Regions from separate parts of the Homo sapiens genome. Here all the other regions are linked to region 1. The links are contacts of gene promoters, found by promoter capture Hi-C in blood cells and fetal thymus (Javierre and others, 2016). All regions are on one chromosome and are shown on one strand. Each heading gives the region's core, a stretch centred on a gene start or on the middle of the fragment in contact. The rest is flanking DNA. Distances are from core to core; before and after follow the strand shown. Region 1 holds the start of APOA5 (apolipoprotein A5). Region 2 overlaps SIK3 (SIK family kinase 3). Region 3 overlaps SIK3 (SIK family kinase 3). Region 4 overlaps SIK3 (SIK family kinase 3). Region 5 overlaps SIK3 (SIK family kinase 3).

Region 1 (3,274 bases), core at 579-3,078:
GGACTGAACCATGCTAGAGGCTCAGAGCCAAGGCTCCCCAGACAAGGAGCTGGGAATGGGCCTGGGCAGGTAGATCCTCAGGGGTCCCCCAGATGGCTGTGGCCCTGGTCATGAAGGCTGTGAGTGATGTCTTCCCACAGGTCATCCAGACGGGCCTGCAGCTTGCTCAGAACCTTGCCACTGTCTGTTTGTTGAAACTCTGGGGCGAAGGCACTGTGGCCTGGTGGAGGTGGCGCCAGCTGCTGCTGGACCTCCTCAGTCTCCTGGTCGATGGCGCGAGTGAAGGCAGCTATCTGCAGGTAGGTGTCCTGGCGGAAAGCCTGAAGTCGCTGGCGCACCTCCTCGGAGAGCATCTGGGGGTCCGGGCCGGCCCCTTCCTCAGTCCCAGTGCCTGCAAAGGCTCTGCTGAGCTCTTCGCGCAGCTGGTCCAGGTTCTGCTGGATGCGTGCGTGCAGGGCCTTGGCCTTGAGCGTGAGCTTCCGGGAGAGCACCTGCACGCAGCGACTGAGGCGCGCGGGGCTGGCGGGGGCGTGCGGAGCCACACTGCGGTGCAGCTCCTGCACGTGGCGCCCGATGCCGCTCACCAGGCTCTCGGCGTATGGGTGGAAGAGCTCTTTGAAGCGGCCGGTGTGGTGCACCACGCGGCTCTGCAGTCCCTGCAGCAAAGCCCAAGCCTCGTCCACGCCCCCCAGCAACTGGGCCTTGGTGTCTTCCCCCACCACGCGCAACTGCTCCTGCAGCTCCTGCACGCGCAGGGCCACCTGCTCCATCAGATCCATCGTGTAGGGCTTCAGTTGCTGCCGCAAGCCCTCCAAATTCCAGCCCACCAGCTCGTGCGCCTCTGCCATGTAGGGCTGGAGGCGAGCCTTCACCTCCTCCAACTCCTCCTGCAGCTGCCGCCGCATGCCCACCGGGTCCTGTGGGAGCCGAGGAGCCTCGCTCCCACTCAGAGGCCTCAGCTTTTCCAGGAACTTGTTCATATTGTTGAGGTCTTGCTCAAGGCTGTCTTTCAGGGTCCTGGAGAAGGGGACAGATATCCAGGCCGTCAGACTGCTAGCCTCCATCATCTCCTTTGTCCCCAAGTCATCGCGCACTGATCCTCTGGGGGAACCAAGGACGCAGGGCGTTGGCCCCAGGGTCGAGGGCTCTTGTCCTAGCCCTGGCCAGTAACAACTCACGCACGAAGCACAAACACATTGCCCATACAAATCCAGACCTACAACACTCTCCAAAGAAACATAGATGCGCCACATCATCCTTTGATTCTGGGGACTGCAGCGGGCGTCCTCCCGATTGATCCCAGGTCCCGCGCCTCAGTGAGCAAGGGGGCAACAGCTACGGAGTTGTCAAGGCGGGGGCTGCAGGCAGAGGGCGCTAAAGAGCCCAGGATGGCCGGGATCTGCAGACAGAGCTAGCACCGCTCCTTTCCTCTGTCCCAGCAGCGGCCACAGAGGTTGAGGCAGCAGAGGCAGGTCATCATGGCATGGCCCAGCTGTCTCCTCCCTTCGCCTACACCCCTTCCCCTGGGCACTCACGCGGGCTCGCGAGCCATCTTCTGCTGATGGATCTGCTCCACCCTGCCTTTGTCCCCGCTGGTCTGGCTGAAGTAGTCCCAGAAGCCTTTCCGTGCCTGGGTGGCCGAAAACGCTGTGGAGAGGGACTAGGTAATCAGGGCCTGGGCTCTCCTCCCCCAGGGTGGACAGGGCCCTCTGGCCAGCCTCCACCCACACCCCCACGTTGAAGTCAGGGTCGGAGACCCACCTGAAAGAAGAGCCAGAGCCCAGGTGAGCACGGCAGCCATGCTTGCCATTACCTGCTCTGAGAAGACAGGTGGAGGGAGGCCTGGTTAGGGGAAGAAGGAGACGAAGGGACATGGCGCAGGGGACTTGCCCAGGGGGCCTCTGCAGGGGCAACTGCCCGAAATCCTGTTACCCCTTCCTTGGGCTGGGGAGCACAGAGCTGTTGGGGCTCAAGAGGACTGACCTAGGTGAGTCAAGGAGGCTAGGGTGTCTTCCTCAGACATGGGAAGAGGGCGTGCTCTTGCTACCTCAGTCACATAGCAGGGAGCGTGGTGCTCTAACCCCTTCGCAAAGGTCCCAGACCCCAGGAACAGTTCTCTAGGCCACTTCTACCACCTCTCCCCTGCCCACCTGTCTCCCTCCCTCCCATTTCATGGTGGAAAAACTGAGCCATAATGAGGGCGAAGAGGCAACTCTGCCAAAATGTTCCAAGAGGACGTCTTAGGGGCCACCCCAGGCTCTCCCCTGAGGCCACCTGCAATGCCCTCCCTTAGGACTGTGACCCCCATCCCTCTGCCCCAGCTGCTCACCTGCTCACGTCTGGGCACAGAGAGCAGACATTCTGCTTTATACTCCAGGGCCCTGAGCCTCTGGCACCAATTGCTCTGAGTAAATACCACGTGGAAGTTCAAAAGAAGTTGACCTCAGCTGCCTCCCAGCACTCACCTCCTGCCCTTTCCCTGGCACCCAGAGGGTTAATGAGTGCCCTGGTATCAGGGGCTGCCCCAGTAGAGAAGTGCTTCCCAGGAGCTTTACGGGGGATGGGGCTGAACTCCTCACCCAGTTTCTCCCAAACCCCATGACCTTTAACCTTCCCACTGACCTGCTGGCTGGCCCACCAACAGAGAAGAACCTGTTTGTCTGCCAAGGGCCCCTCTCTTACACAACTACCCAGAGTCACTGTGTCCCAGCCGGCAAGATGGACAGTGTTCACCTACCAGCCAGAACCCGAGCAGCCCCTGAAAGCTTCACTACAGGTTCCGCAGGCATCCTCAGCCAGCATTCATAGGGTTAAAGACCAACCACATCCCTCTTTATGAAACAATCCTGGAACAAGCAAGGGAAGCCAGGCAGGGTGAAGATGAGATGGCAAGAGGCATCTGGGCCAGGGACTCTGAGCCCCAGGAACTGGAGCGAAAGTGAGATTTGCCCCATGAGGAAAAGCTGAACTCCACTCGCAGGGCCTCTGAGGAGAGCAAGCCCAAATGCTCAGATCTTCTCTGATGACACACCCACTCCGTCTACAGTACTCATACACACGTTCACAAGCTCCCGATTCTTGGTCCTAAATGCATCTTGAATCAATCCCCTCTCCTCCATTTCCACTACCATCATTGCACCAGTTGTCTGTCACCTTGATTGCATTCATAGCCTCCAACAGGTCTTTCTACCACACTCCTGCCCATTTAATTCATCCTCCACTGTGGCTCATCCTGACTCATTTCCAGTCTCATCTGCTGCCACATAAAACCACG
Region 2 (3,274 bases), core at 245-2,744, 240 kb after region 1:
CAATAACTTACATGTTTGTTGTAGGATAAAATTATTACCCTCAATGAACTACATAAAAATATAGAAAAAATAGCTGGGTGCAGTGGCTCACACCTGTAATTCCAGCACTTTGGGAGGCCAAGGCAGGTGGATCACGAGGTCAAGAGATCAAGACCATCCTGGCTAACTCAGTGAAACCTCGTCTCTACTAAAAATACAAAACAAAAAAAAATTAGCCAGGCGTCGTGGTGGGCGCCTGTAGTCTCAGCTACTCAGGAGGCTGAGGCAGGAGAATGGTGTGAAGCCAGGAGGCGGAGCTTGCAGTGAGCAGAGATTGCGCCACTGCACTCCAGTCTGGGGGGAAAGAGCGAGACTCCGTCTAAAAAAAAAAAAAAAAGAAAGAAAAGAAAAGAAAAAAAAAGAAAAGGAAAAGAAAAGAAAACATTTTCAGATTTGAAGAAAAAAATCTGATAATGGATATAAGAAGATTGATCAGGCTCAAGGCAAATTATTAATTAGTATTAGAAACCAACACCAACTGGTTCTTCAACCATTATCAAACACATTGATAACAGTATATGAAATGAAGGAATCTCACATAAATAATGTAATAGCCATTTGTCACTGGAGGTCACCTTTTATGACAAGAAAAATAATCCCACGTTCTTCATATGTTTAATGAAGTTAAGTTTTATAAAACAGATTTATAATCGCTGCCATGTATCATTCTGGGGGAGAAAAAAACAGTAAGCACAAAAAGAAAGCCTAAGATTATGGACAGAAAAAAAATTCAAAGAAAACTTAAATCTAACAACAAAAATACCATAGCACTGTATAAGTTATCACATAGAACATGAAGAACTAGTATACATTCCAGAGGAAAAGCTTGTTAAATCCTACACTGCTAACACTATAACTATATTGAATAAACATACTGCCCCTTAAATATAATTAGCACCATTATTTGAAAACAGAGACAAGAGAAAAGCATCTATAAGACTTGAATGATAAAAGCTGAAATTATGTGAAATCCTTATACTTCAGGCAAGGACATGAATGCTAAAGATCTCAAATTTTCTCAGTGACATGCAAGTAAATGAAAGTAAAGATACGGTTTATTTGTAAAACACGATGCACAATTGAAGGGAGAAATTAAGTATTTAGATCACTTTTTAGCATGCCCTCAAGTAAGTCGGCCAAAACATAATGAGATCAGTACTGGTGGTTAAGAAAAGAGTAACACCAAAAACTTCAGAAAAAGTGGGTCTTATAAAGGCTGTTTCCTAAATGTAGTAATGTATAAGTAATCATGCCATGCTCCACAGACAAGCAAGAGATGTTAAGAAGATGCCAGCACGATTCCAATTATCAATTGTATTAAGGCATGGTCTTTACATTTCAAACTTTACAGAGTTACCTGGAATTATACAGTAAGTTCCAGAATCTCCTCTTTCATTTGTGAATCTGTTCGCTACCCAAAGGCAAGTTCTATTATAAATAGTCAATTAAGATCCAAAAAAACCAAACTTATTTTTTGCTTTTGGTTAACAAGAAATTCCTTTAGCTTAATTGTAACATGGCTACAGCAATCAGTGTACCTTGCTAATATTTTTAATAACTTTGTAACATAAGGTTGTGATGTTACCATGTTTTACAACTGCAAATAATGCAATGATAAAACTGAAAGTTTTGAACTGAACTTTTTTATCTGAGTAATATTTTATTGTATGAATATACCACCATTTATTTATCTCTTGGTTGTTTCCAGTTCTGGGCTATAATCCAAAATGCTTTTTTCAAACAATAGGCTATATATCATTAATGTCCATTTATCAGCAGTATAAAATATCTTACCATAAATATTAATAAAAGAAGCAGTATAAACAAAATCTGTTTATTTTAAAACTGAGTGAATAAAAGGCAGAGATAGGCAATGAGGAAATGAGGAATTTTTTAATGATGCAGATAATATGTTCTAAAATATAATGAAGACCTAAATTAGCTGAGAAATGTGTTCAACAATCACTCCAAACTAAGTATGAATTAATGATTCTATCAATTCATTAATTCTATTAAATCTATTAATGATTCTATTAAACATTAATGATTCTATTTGCAAATTAAAACTTCCTGCTATTCCATTTTAAAGCTTTGGCTATCCCCCATCTGTGATTTTTGTACTGGTTATTTTAACTCAATGTCTGTCAGTTCTTTTCATTTGTAAAATGCAGATAAAAGTAACTACCTACATTATAGGGCTATTGTCACCCAGGCTGGAATGCAGTGATGTGATCATAGCTCACTGTAACCTTGAGCTCCTAGGCTCAAGCGATCCTCCCACCTTAGCCTCCAGAGTAGCTGGGACTACAGGTGCATGCCACCATGCCCGGCTAATTGTTTTAATTTTTTTTTTTAATCCAAAATGTGTTTATTGAGATGGTTTCCCACTCATCTTGATTCAGAGTGCTTTTAGTGCTGCTTCCTCCTGAAGGAACATCCTTCTGTAAGCCTTGCTTTTCCTCCTGTAGGCTGGCAGAGGACAGTGGAGCAGCCAACACACAAAACTACCGTTTGTGCATGGCTAAAGACCGTGATGATTTTATAGCATCCTGGGCATTTCACATCCATGAAGCAGGAATTGGGGCTCTGCACCAGGCGTTTCTTCTTGTGTTTCCTCTTCTCCTTTTCTGGAGAGGGATGAAGGAGACCCTTTGCAAGAGGCATGTTCTCGTGTGGGTAGGTCATCACCGCCGGAAAGGTTAATTTTTTTTTTTTATAGTCAAGGTCTCACTTTGTCACCTAGGCTTGTCTTGCAACTCCTGGCTTCAAGCAATCCTTTCATCTCAGCCTCCCAAAATGTTGGGATTGCAGGTGTGAGCCAATGTGCCCAGCCAAAAATAAAATTTAAAAAAAAATAATGTAGGTAGTTTCTCATAGTAACGTAAAGAATATGTAACCTGTGTTTTCCTGAAAGTTGAGGGAAAGCTGAGGCAGCTAATGGGCTCATACAAAGGTTTGGAAGACCCATTCTGACTACCTAAAGGAGAGTCAGCATTCTGACCATTCTGATTGTGCTTATAGAAGAGTCAGAACTTGTGAAGAAAGAAGCCTTAAAATCCAAGGTAGTAATCATCCTGGGAAATATTTCAGGAAATAACTTAAGGTTTGTATTTTCCCCTAAAATTGTTAGAAGAAAAGAAATGAAGATCTACATATATGCTCTTTTAGAGCTGAGAATAGCTTCTATAAAGCAGAATTTTAGACTTTTCTCCCCAAAGGAAAATAGGCATATTTA
Region 3 (3,274 bases), core at 272-2,771, 210 kb after region 1:
CATTCTACACAATAAGCCTGCATCTTAGTCCATTACAAGAAAAAAAAACCACATTCTGGAAAAAGAAAAAAACATTTCACAATATTGGCTTCATAATAAATACATTTTAACTTAAAACAGTATGAAGTAGAATTTTTAATATAATAAAATGCTTGTCACTAGCAGTTCTTTTATAGAGAACATGTAGGAGGAAGGCTTGTCATCTGACAATATCTACCAGGTTAGCATTATGCAAGTATCTGAATTAATAAGCAGAAAGTAACAGTTACTGTCACCAAAAAGTCTGTATCCCTAAGTGAACTCTACTGTGAAATGAGGTGGAAGTTGTGTTTTTCCTGTTCTAAAATCCAACATGCTCACATTCCTTACAGGTAGCCAGTACTGATGAAGTCCGGATTTGCCAGCAATGAAAAGCAGTCAGTGTTCTGCCTTAAGCATACACGCCGTGTCAAGTAAATGCTGCCTTTGTAGTTGCCAGAGCAATAGCCACCACCAATAACAACAAAAATGAGGTAGCTGAGAGAGAACAGTGTGCCTACCACAGTAACATCTCGTTTCCTATGATACTGATTTTTGCTACATTAAGTCTCTTGCAACGAATGATAAGAAATTCACATTGACTTTATCAGATCTACACTACTCAGAATCTGACCGGGTTTACATAGAATTGACCAAGCTGCATGTGCCCAACTCTCACATACTTCTGTTCAAGAAGCCTTTAGTAAATAAGAACATAAAAGAAAAGCTTGACTCAGGCAGATCTGGTTTGGAATTCAAGCTCCAACACACTGGTTTTGCACTTTGGGCAATTTGCTTAACATCTTAAAGCACAATTTTTCTAGTATAAAATGAGGGTAATAAAAGTATGACCTGAAAGTACCTCATAAGGTTGTTCTCAGGATGAAATAAAAAAAAAAATATATTCAATGCTGGCTGGGAGCAGTGGCTCATGCCTGTAATCCTAGCACTTTGACGGGGCGGAGGCAGAAGGATCACTTGAGGCCAGGAGTTCAACACAAGGTAGGCAACAAAGCGAGACCCCAACTCTATTTATTAAATATATATATTTATTCAATGCCATGCCAGGCACACAGTAAGCACTATATAAACATAAGCATACGTTGTTGTTATGGTATTTCATTTTGCTGGTGTAGCTATTCTACTTGCTTTAGGTAGGGTCAACATCACAGAGGGTCATAAATTCCACACACAAAAAAGAAACAATTCAAGCTGAGAATTTAAAGTCGGAGCAACCTATTTATTGACAGACTACAGATGAGGAGTATAGATTGGTCCCCATTGCTGAACATTATACTTTAACGAGAAATGTTAAAACAAACAAACAAAAAACTCTGATTATCCATGTGCTACTGCTGCCTTCGTCTGAGCATCTATCTACAAAAATTATGGAGAATATGGGGAAAAAAGCTAAGAAATTAAAGTATTTATTAAGTAACAGAATGCCACCATAAGATTCACATATATTAAAAATCCTCTCCAAATATCATCTGATCATCCACTGATTAGAAACAAAGTTGACAGAATGCAACCCTGAATTTAACTTGTCTGAACTAAGACAGGACTGATCCTTAAGCACTGACAGGCAAGTTCAATGAATCTACCTTTAGGACCATAGGTTGATAAAGGTAACTAAAGGCAGGGAGCAGTGGCTCACACCTGTAATCCCAGCATGTTGCGAGGCCGAGGTGGGCAGATCGCTTGAGCCCAGGAGTTTGAGACCAGCCTGGGCAACATGGTGAAACCCCATCTCTACAAAAAATACAAAAAATTAGCCAGGCGTGATGGTGCACACCTGTGGTCCCAGCTACTCAGGAGGATGAGGTGGGAGGATTGCTTGAGCCCAGAAGGTCGAGGCTGCAGTAAGCCAAGATTGTGCCACTGCACTCCAGCCTGGGTGACAAAGTGAGACCCTGTCTCCAAAACAAAAAAAAAGAACAACGTTATTTAGACTATCCAAACAGGGACCCTGAAAATACTTGGGTAAGTGCATTTTGCTAATCAATTCTGACAAAAGATAATGGGGTGGAGGAAATAACATAGAGGCACTATTATTAAGACCTGACTCATTACTTTCCTTCAAATCTTACAAGGGAACAACCACAGAGTCACAGGAATACTTCTTCCCACCTGTCAATAACTTTACTCCAACCAACTCTTGTAAGATTCCTACCTCTTCTCCTCATCCCACCTTTGGCCAACTCTAGTCCAATTCCTGCTGGGCAATAAGAAAGGAAACAAGGTTAAAGCCTATGGGAAAACAAAGAGGTCCCAAAACCAAAGCTTTCTAATTAAAGCTTAATGTCGCATGATGTGAGCAATGAAAGGCATGTTAGATAAATCTAGTACGGCTACCTCAATTTAATTGGGAAGGAAATGGTAAATGTTGCCTAGTCTCATACAGCTAGTTAAGGGCACAGCCAGGCAGGATTAGAACTTAAAACCCCTATCTCCTAATCCAGTGTTTTTCCTACTATATCATTGAGATCAGTTTTTAAAAGACTGTATCAATGAACTCTTCTCCTTTTTTACTATATAATACTCAGAATATAAAAACAAAATGTGGGCTGGGCATGGTGGCTCACACCTGTAATCCCAGCACTTTGGGAGGCTGAGGCGGGCAGATCACCTGAGGTCAGGAGTTCGAGACCAGCCTGGCCAACCCAGGAGGTGAAGGCTGCAGTGAGCCGAGATCGCACCACTGCACTCTAGCCTGGTGACAGAGCGAGACCCCGTCTCAGAAAAAAAAAAAAAAAAAAAAAAAAAGATAAAAAAGATCTTCACAAACATTTTTAAATGGTAAAAGGAAAGCATGGAGGTGGGAGGTGTTTTTGCAAATACAGGACTATAAAGATCCCTGCAAGAGCCAGAACCTAAACGTTTCTTAGAAACAGAACAGTGACTGGTTCACTGGGTCAGTAACCTTCAGACTCAGTAGAGATCAATGCACAGATTTTGAAGTCAGGCTCTCTTGGGTTTGAATCCAGTCATGTCATTTAATAACTCTGGAACTTCAGGTATAACCACTCTCTTAATTTACTTATCTCTAAAATGGGATAATAACATCTGATTCATAGAATGAGAGTAATAAAAATCTTACTTCTATTACTATCTTTTGCTGCTTTTGATAATATAAAGTATCACAAACCCAAAGGACATAATAGTTATATAAGCAGCAAGTCAAAATGACCCCAGGAAAGATGCTTCAGCAGAAAGAGGCAGGATATCCAGCATGTTAAACACTCCATTCAAGCAA
Region 4 (3,274 bases), core at 368-2,867, 170 kb after region 1:
TTAGAACTCTGAACTAAATAAAATAAATTCTCATCATCTTCTGAATTAACATTTTGTGTAGTTGTTGCTAAGAATGGCATCAAATTTTAAAGAACAAATTAAAAAGACCTACCTGGGTAAGGAAAACGTACTAGTAAATGGCCAGGGGAAACTTGAGGATACTAAGTGCTGAGCGCGTAAACAGAAGGGTAGGAAAGATAGCAGGATTAACATAGAAACAAAAAAAGTCACAGATGTTCACCCACCCACATTTCTTCAAAGGGAGCCATACATACAATATTCTGGGTTCTTTGCAGCTATCTGCTATACACTAATGATCCTACCTGGTAGAGCCTGATGATATGGGGGTGGCAAAGCATCTTCATAATTTGAACTTCCCGGAAAATCTTCTTCAAGTTTTCTTCATCCAGCTGGGTCTTATCTATGATCTTGATAGCAACCTGACAACAGAGGGAAAAAAATTACTCTGATGCATTATTAAAAGCAGTTTACTAAGAAAAATTAGGTTCACTTTAAAACATTACGTTCCATAAAATATAAGCTGCCAGTATTCTGTTTACAGAATGTCAATGAGGAAAATTAATTTACTCTTTTTAAAAAGATAGGAAATGGATTCCTAGCAAGTTGGTCTCAAAGGAACAGACTCCAAAAGCTAATGGGTCTTCTGCCATTTCTTCAATTGCTTATACGGTAAAATCCTATGAAAAAATACTTTATTACTCCATAGATGTCGTTACGGTCTGGGTCAAATCATGTTTCAGTGCAGAGTGGTATACAGGGTCTCTCATTAAGACAAGAAGCTTTAAATAAAATAAAAAATTTTTAAAAAGGCAAGAAGCTTGTATCATAAATACATGGTGTCTTACTAAGGTTCTATGAGAACTTTCACAGGGGCTTTACACATCTCACCAGATGCTTGTAGAACTCAATAATAATAATAATAGTAGCAGTGATGGTGGTGGCAGCAGCAGTAGCAGCATCTACCATATACGAAATGTTTACTATGGGCCAGGCATAACTCTTAGTGGTTTGGAAGTACTAACTCATTTAAACCTCCTAACACCCACCTTATCATTAACCTTGCTTTAGAAATACAGAAACTGAGGCACACAGAGATTAAGTAATTAACCCAAGATTAAGTAATTTACACCTAGTATGTGGCAGGTGCAGGATTGAAGCCTAGGTAGCTTGGCTTTAGAATCAAATTCTTAATAAGAATGTTATAAGAATCTGAAGATCTTTCTTTAGCATACATGCACTGCATCATAAAACATATCTTTCCAATGTGCCCCCTTTTAATAAGATACTCATCAGCAAATACATTTTAATGAAGAATGAACGATGAAGGACTTTTAAAAATTTACTAAATCTAAACTTCCTCAGTGAAATACTTAAAATATTTGTGTTGCTCCAAAATATGTCTATATCTCAGTTTCAATTATGTAATCAGTATGGAAGCAATACTGGTTAGATGAAGAACCTAGACTAGTCAAACTCTAGTCCTCTCCAAATCTTAACATTCTAAGATTCTATGCACCAGAGAGGTAAAGGGAACATATACAGTACTTACTGAGGAAAAAATCAGGAAAACAAAATTACAAAAGTAAAAATGTTTAGCTCAGAGAAATAAAGACTGTTTGGAGCCATACGTGGCAGATTATTCAGATGTATAAATGGCTGGCATAAAAGTAACTTTATCTGAAGCTGTTTCAGGTGTTAAAATGAGGACCCACGGGAGAAAGGCACAGGGAGATAAATTTCAGCTGTACTCAAAGAGCATTCAAGCCATGCCTAACGAGGGAGTGTGATGAAAGGAGCTGGGTGTGGCTGGAGCTACAAGGATTAATCAGACACAGCCTAAACTTCAAGGAGATCACAGTCTAAAAAGGAAAAAAGATGTGTGGAACTGAAAACAATGCAGCATTGGAAGTACAAGCAATGGAGCTATGTACCAGGTATAACAACAGACAGAGGATGGTGAATGACCTTCACCTACAGGAGAAGAGGTAGAAAAAGTCTGGGAAAGACTTGACAAAGAAAGCAGAATTTCACTACAGAGAGAACTGGGATAGGCAGAGAAGAAGGTAGAGAATTTAATGAGGATCTCACCAGCTGCTTGGTTTCCTGTAAGAAGTCTTGGATAATATAACCCTTGACCACCTGCATTTCTACTTCTCCTCATTACTGCACCAGATCACATACAAGACCTTAACTCCACAACTGGTCTAGCATCTGCTCCTGCTTCTCTCAGGACAGCTCCCAAAACAACAACAAAAAAAATCATGGTACACAATGTCTCTTCCTAGAACAAATAGCTTGGTCTTAATAGTCATTATTAATAAAATCTTACATGTGAATGGCACCTTGTAATGTACAGAATGCTTTCATAAATATAACAAGCTTAGAAACTTGCAGATATATCCCCATAGCAGAGCTGCCAAACAGCTGTAATCCCAGCACTTTCGGAGGCCAAGGAGGGCAGACTGATTGAGTCCAGGAGTTCAAGACCAGCATGGGCAATATGGTGAAACCCCATCTCTACTAAAAAACTTTTTAAAAATTAGCCGAGCATGGTAGCATGTGTCTGTAGTCCCAGCTACTCAGGAGGCTGAGGTGGAAGGACAGTTTGATCCCGGGAGCTGAAGTTGCAGTGAGCTATGATCGTGCCAGCAACAGAATGAGACCCTGTCTCAAAAGAAAAAAAAAGAACTTCCAAACAAGTGTGTTGGAAATGGGTTACAAGCAATAATGGATCACCTCCAATCTCAACTTTCTGTGCATGCCATGATGTGCAAAAGGTGGGAAGAACTGCTAGGATTTATTTACCTTAATAACAGAGGGCATCAACTGTCTAAGGCCTGTGCCTGAAATCTTCCACCTCTGCCCACCCCCTACTAATTGATGGCATGTACAATGTAACTGGGGAAAAGCGGGTGACCTTCAGGTTAACTTATGAAATTTGTGCATTCTTTCACCTCCAAGAGATCACAGGGAGTCATATAGTGGGGCCTCCCTGATTCACAAGGCACTCACTCTAAATTTCATTTGCATTCTGAAGCAATAGGATCTTCATAATGGTAAACAGAGATTGTGTGGCTCCCAGTCAGCCACACAATCACGTGGGTAGATAACAATAGAGTGAATTAAATGCATTTCTGACTTACCATATTTTCAACTTATAATGGGTTTATTGGGACGTAACCCATCATAAGTCAAGAAATATCTGTACTAGCAATAATGCCTTTTGTTGGCTATAATTAACAATAATTTATTA
Region 5 (3,274 bases), core at 353-2,852, 140 kb after region 1:
AGTGGGATTAGAAATGTCAGCTATGATACAGTTGTTCTGTTAGAAATGTCTAATAGTCTCATGAGCACTGTCCTTTAATCAACTGATCTAGCTGGGAAAAGGACATATTTGCCATCCTAAGCATCCTGAGACAGTAGGAAAGTGAAAAATGAGGGAATATAGATAAATATATTGTGATTTATCAACAGTTTTGGTAGAATACACAATTGTTTTGGTGACATCTCACTCCCTCACAGGACCAGTCAGGTGTATCTTTCCTTCACCACAAAGAGGAAGTTCAGGGTAGCACATATTTACTAGCAATAACTGCCAAGACTGAGCGCTTGTGGCAAGAAATGGTAGGGGAGAAGGTTGAAGAAGGGGAGTTAGATGCCAGCCCATCTACAGAGCAGATTGCAAAATAATTCAAACTGCATTCTGACCACAAGAAATATAACATTCTGGAATGCAAATACTGTAGTCACTTTAAGAACATATCTTATATGTAGATAATATAAATCATTAAGAAAGATCCTCAAAGGAATTATTGTAATTTTTGTTCGCCACACACAAGGCTTTTGAAGCATCTCCCTCAAAAATACAAGTCATTGTTATAGCCAAGATTATCGATTTAATAGAAGAAAAAGGAGAAAATAAGAAGTCTTCCACTTAGCAGTTAAAAGGACTAGAATCAAGCTTTCCCTGGGAGGTCAGAGGTGGGGATAAGTAAGCTCCCACTCGGGTGTGTTTAGGCTTCCGGTGAGGTCTGCTATGAACTTTAAACAACACGAAGTCCAAACTAGGGAGAGTAACTTAACAGAAGCTGTGAAAGAACTGGCCATCCATCAGAGGTAGAATGCTATGTTTTAAGAGGCCATTTTCTAACAGTACCTGCTCCTCTGACCCCCTATTTCTCTTAACCCAAGGCCTAATTATTCTAATAATATGTTTTAGTTGCTAAACCTTGTCTAATTAAAGAGCTTTGAAGAGACAGCTATTCTTGAGAAACATAAAAATAAACCCTTATGAAGGTTTACCATCAGAAGCTCATTTGGCCAAGCTACCCATTAATTAAAATGCCCAAGAGACATTTGTCTGGCAGTAAATACTAATTACCAGAACACATCAAAGTGCTTCTTAAATGCTGCAGAATGATTAATTTCACAATTTCCAAAATAAGTGATTTCTTTTATTAAGAAAGTCTTTATAAATTTCTAAGTACCTTGTTTTCCTAAAGTGATTGGAAAGTTCTCAAAACTGTTATACGGGCCAGAAGCTGCTGGAATGCAGCCTAGTTCTGTTTTATCTCTACAGTGACACATCAGTTGTCCCTGGACAAATCATTTATCCTGCCAATACCCCCACCTCTTGATCTTCTAAATACAAGTAAACTCTGTTGCATGCTATACCCAAAGAAAGAACAGAATATTTGGGAATAAACGTGTACTCTGATTAAGAGTATCATACGTTAAAACTTTCACTTTCAAAGATGTTGCAAAAGACATTTTTGAAAAGGTCCACTGAATACTATATAGGGAATACTTAAACATCTAGTCAATAGAGCACAAAGTCCTTCAGGATTCTGCAGAGCTTAAAGGTGATTTTCTACACATCGATTGTCACTGTTAATGGTTCTGGTTAAAAGGTAGCTGTAACAGCGCACTGGGTAGTACAGCTTAAACTATAATACTTTCCCCAAAGTTACCTTCAGTACCCCTATAGTTATAGATACAAAGAAGATAAACAAATCACTTTTTTTTTTCCCCTGGACTCTAAATACACTTACGGAACAAATCACTTTTTTTTTTTAAAGTGTTCACATTAGATATTTGCTCCTAGCCATTGTGTTTAGGGTTCAAGTTTTCTTCTCTTTGGGAGCACTGTGCTCTTCACATGCAAGCTCCTTCCAGTGGCTCAATCGCATTCAGACCTCAGCCTCTGCCCTGATTTTTGCCCATCTTATCCCCCCAACCCCTACTCCCATTGGTTTGCTTTCACTGTAAACCTACGAGGTCTAGTGGGTGTGCCAGGAAGCCAGCAGCCTGCAGTGGTTTTCACTCCCTGCTGAAAATCGCCTTTCAGCTGCCTGCTGACAAATAGCTGCTTTATATTCGTATATGCTCTAGAGGCAGGCAGCAAACATTCTTCAAGTTCAAATGTGATATTTAACTTTCAGTGAAGAAATCCAGAGCTGTAGACCAGCCTGGACTTAACACATAGTCACAGCATTTTTACAAATACTGCAGTACTTTCAGAAGGCAAATGAAACCAAATGGCTCCTGAATCCACTCAATACGCAAAGTAAAATGTACGTTGAACCTTGTCAGGATAAACTCCAATTGCAAGGAACTCCAGAGTTGTTCTGCTTCTTCCAGGCAATTCAGTGAACTACCTCTCCTAAATACTGAGACACAAATACTACCCATATCCTCATCCCAATCATCCACACTGCAGCCATGCCCCTAGCTAGAGTCCTGCCCCCTCCCCACCCCCACCAATCTAAACAAACCTCAAGTAGACACCTGCTGCATAAAGTCAAGTCCATCACACTAAGCTTTTTTCACCATCAATCAACTACTTATCTATTTAGTTGCCATTATAGGTCTGGGACAAATTTAAAGTTTTCTTTGACCACAATTTCACTCCAAACATGTACCCAGACAGGGATGAGGTGACTCTCGGTTAAAAGGAAAAAAAATGGTTCTCCTGTTTCAAGTGCTTTTCAAAAGTAAAAAGTAAAACAAAGTAAAAAAAAGTAAAAAGTACTTTTAAATTCTCTTTCTCACTTTCCCATGACCATGACTTGGCATTGGTCTTCTTTAATCTTTTTGGTCTGCCCTTCCTTGCAAAATGAAAAGAAGTAAGTGACACTAAGAGATTTACATACCCGACGAAGAGTAATATTGTTAGAAGTACAGGAAATCGATTTTGAATTTTCTAAAGTATTAGAGCACCAGCACGTAAGTTTGCTTCAGAATTCACTGTTTGTAATTTTGTCCCAATCTTACTCAGGAAGAAAATATCTTGTGGTACATTTAGGTTCTGACCTTTCAAAGAGCAAAAATACACAGAAGCCAGTCTTACCTTCCCTAGGCCAGCTTCAATGGAGTGTCAGAGGTATGCCACTAATGGGATAGTGGTGCGGAGCCAACATTTCTTAAAATAAGTCACTTTTCCACTCTAAACAGACAGTGTCTCCATTTGTCTGCTAAGTCTACAACTCATAGTTGATGCAAAACACTAGCTGAAAATGAACATACCCTGACAGCAGGACAAGCAATAGGCAGAAATACCA

Evidence for each region. The method cuts DNA at HindIII sites, captures the fragments that hold promoters and counts their contacts. A CHiCAGO score of 5 or more calls a contact.
Region 2: a fragment that was not itself captured here is called in contact with the fragment with the promoter of APOA5 in region 1 in 8 of 17 cell types (naive CD8 T cells, total CD4 T cells, naive CD4 T cells and 5 more); the score reaches 7.9 in naive CD8 T cells.
Region 3: a contact is called between a fragment that was not itself captured here and the fragment with the promoter of APOA5 in region 1, in 3 of 17 cell types (naive CD8 T cells, activated CD4 T cells and neutrophils). The highest score is 6.1, in naive CD8 T cells.
Region 4: a fragment that was not itself captured here is called in contact with the fragment with the promoter of APOA5 in region 1 in 1 of 17 cell types (total B cells); the score reaches 5.4 in total B cells.
Region 5: a contact is called between a fragment that was not itself captured here and the fragment with the promoter of APOA5 in region 1, in 5 of 17 cell types (naive CD8 T cells, non-activated CD4 T cells, total CD8 T cells and 2 more). The highest score is 7.1, in naive CD8 T cells.

Annotation. Positions count from the first base shown.
Region 1 is chr11:116,790,051-116,793,324 of GRCh38, forward strand. APOA5 (apolipoprotein A5) reads right to left here and starts at 1,829. Exons shown (of 3, transcript NM_001371904.1): 1 at 1,762-1,829; 2 at 1,536-1,647; 3 at 1-1,017. The coding sequence starts at 1,810. The coding sequence ends at 78. The HindIII fragment of the contact is 6,000 bases long and covers 1-2,763 here.
Region 2 is chr11:117,033,349-117,036,622 of GRCh38, forward strand. All of the region lies in intron 1 of SIK3 (SIK family kinase 3), which reads right to left. It also overlaps the pseudogene RPS27P19. Among named protein-coding and RNA genes, the nearest start is that of SIK3, 63 kb to the right of the region's middle. The HindIII fragment of the contact is 1,264 bases long and covers 863-2,126 here.
Region 3 is chr11:117,002,578-117,005,851 of GRCh38, forward strand. All of the region lies in intron 1 of SIK3 (SIK family kinase 3), which reads right to left. Among named protein-coding and RNA genes, the nearest start is that of SIK3, 94 kb to the right of the region's middle. The HindIII fragment of the contact is 1,556 bases long and covers 744-2,299 here.
Region 4 is chr11:116,956,625-116,959,898 of GRCh38, forward strand. SIK3 (SIK family kinase 3) reads right to left here. Exons shown (of 25, transcript NM_001366686.3): 2 at 324-440. Among named protein-coding and RNA genes, the nearest start is that of APOA1, 120 kb to the left of the region's middle. The HindIII fragment of the contact is 1,562 bases long and covers 837-2,398 here.
Region 5 is chr11:116,928,309-116,931,582 of GRCh38, forward strand. All of the region lies in intron 3 of SIK3 (SIK family kinase 3), which reads right to left. Among named protein-coding and RNA genes, the nearest start is that of APOA1, 92 kb to the left of the region's middle. The HindIII fragment of the contact is 1,858 bases long and covers 674-2,531 here.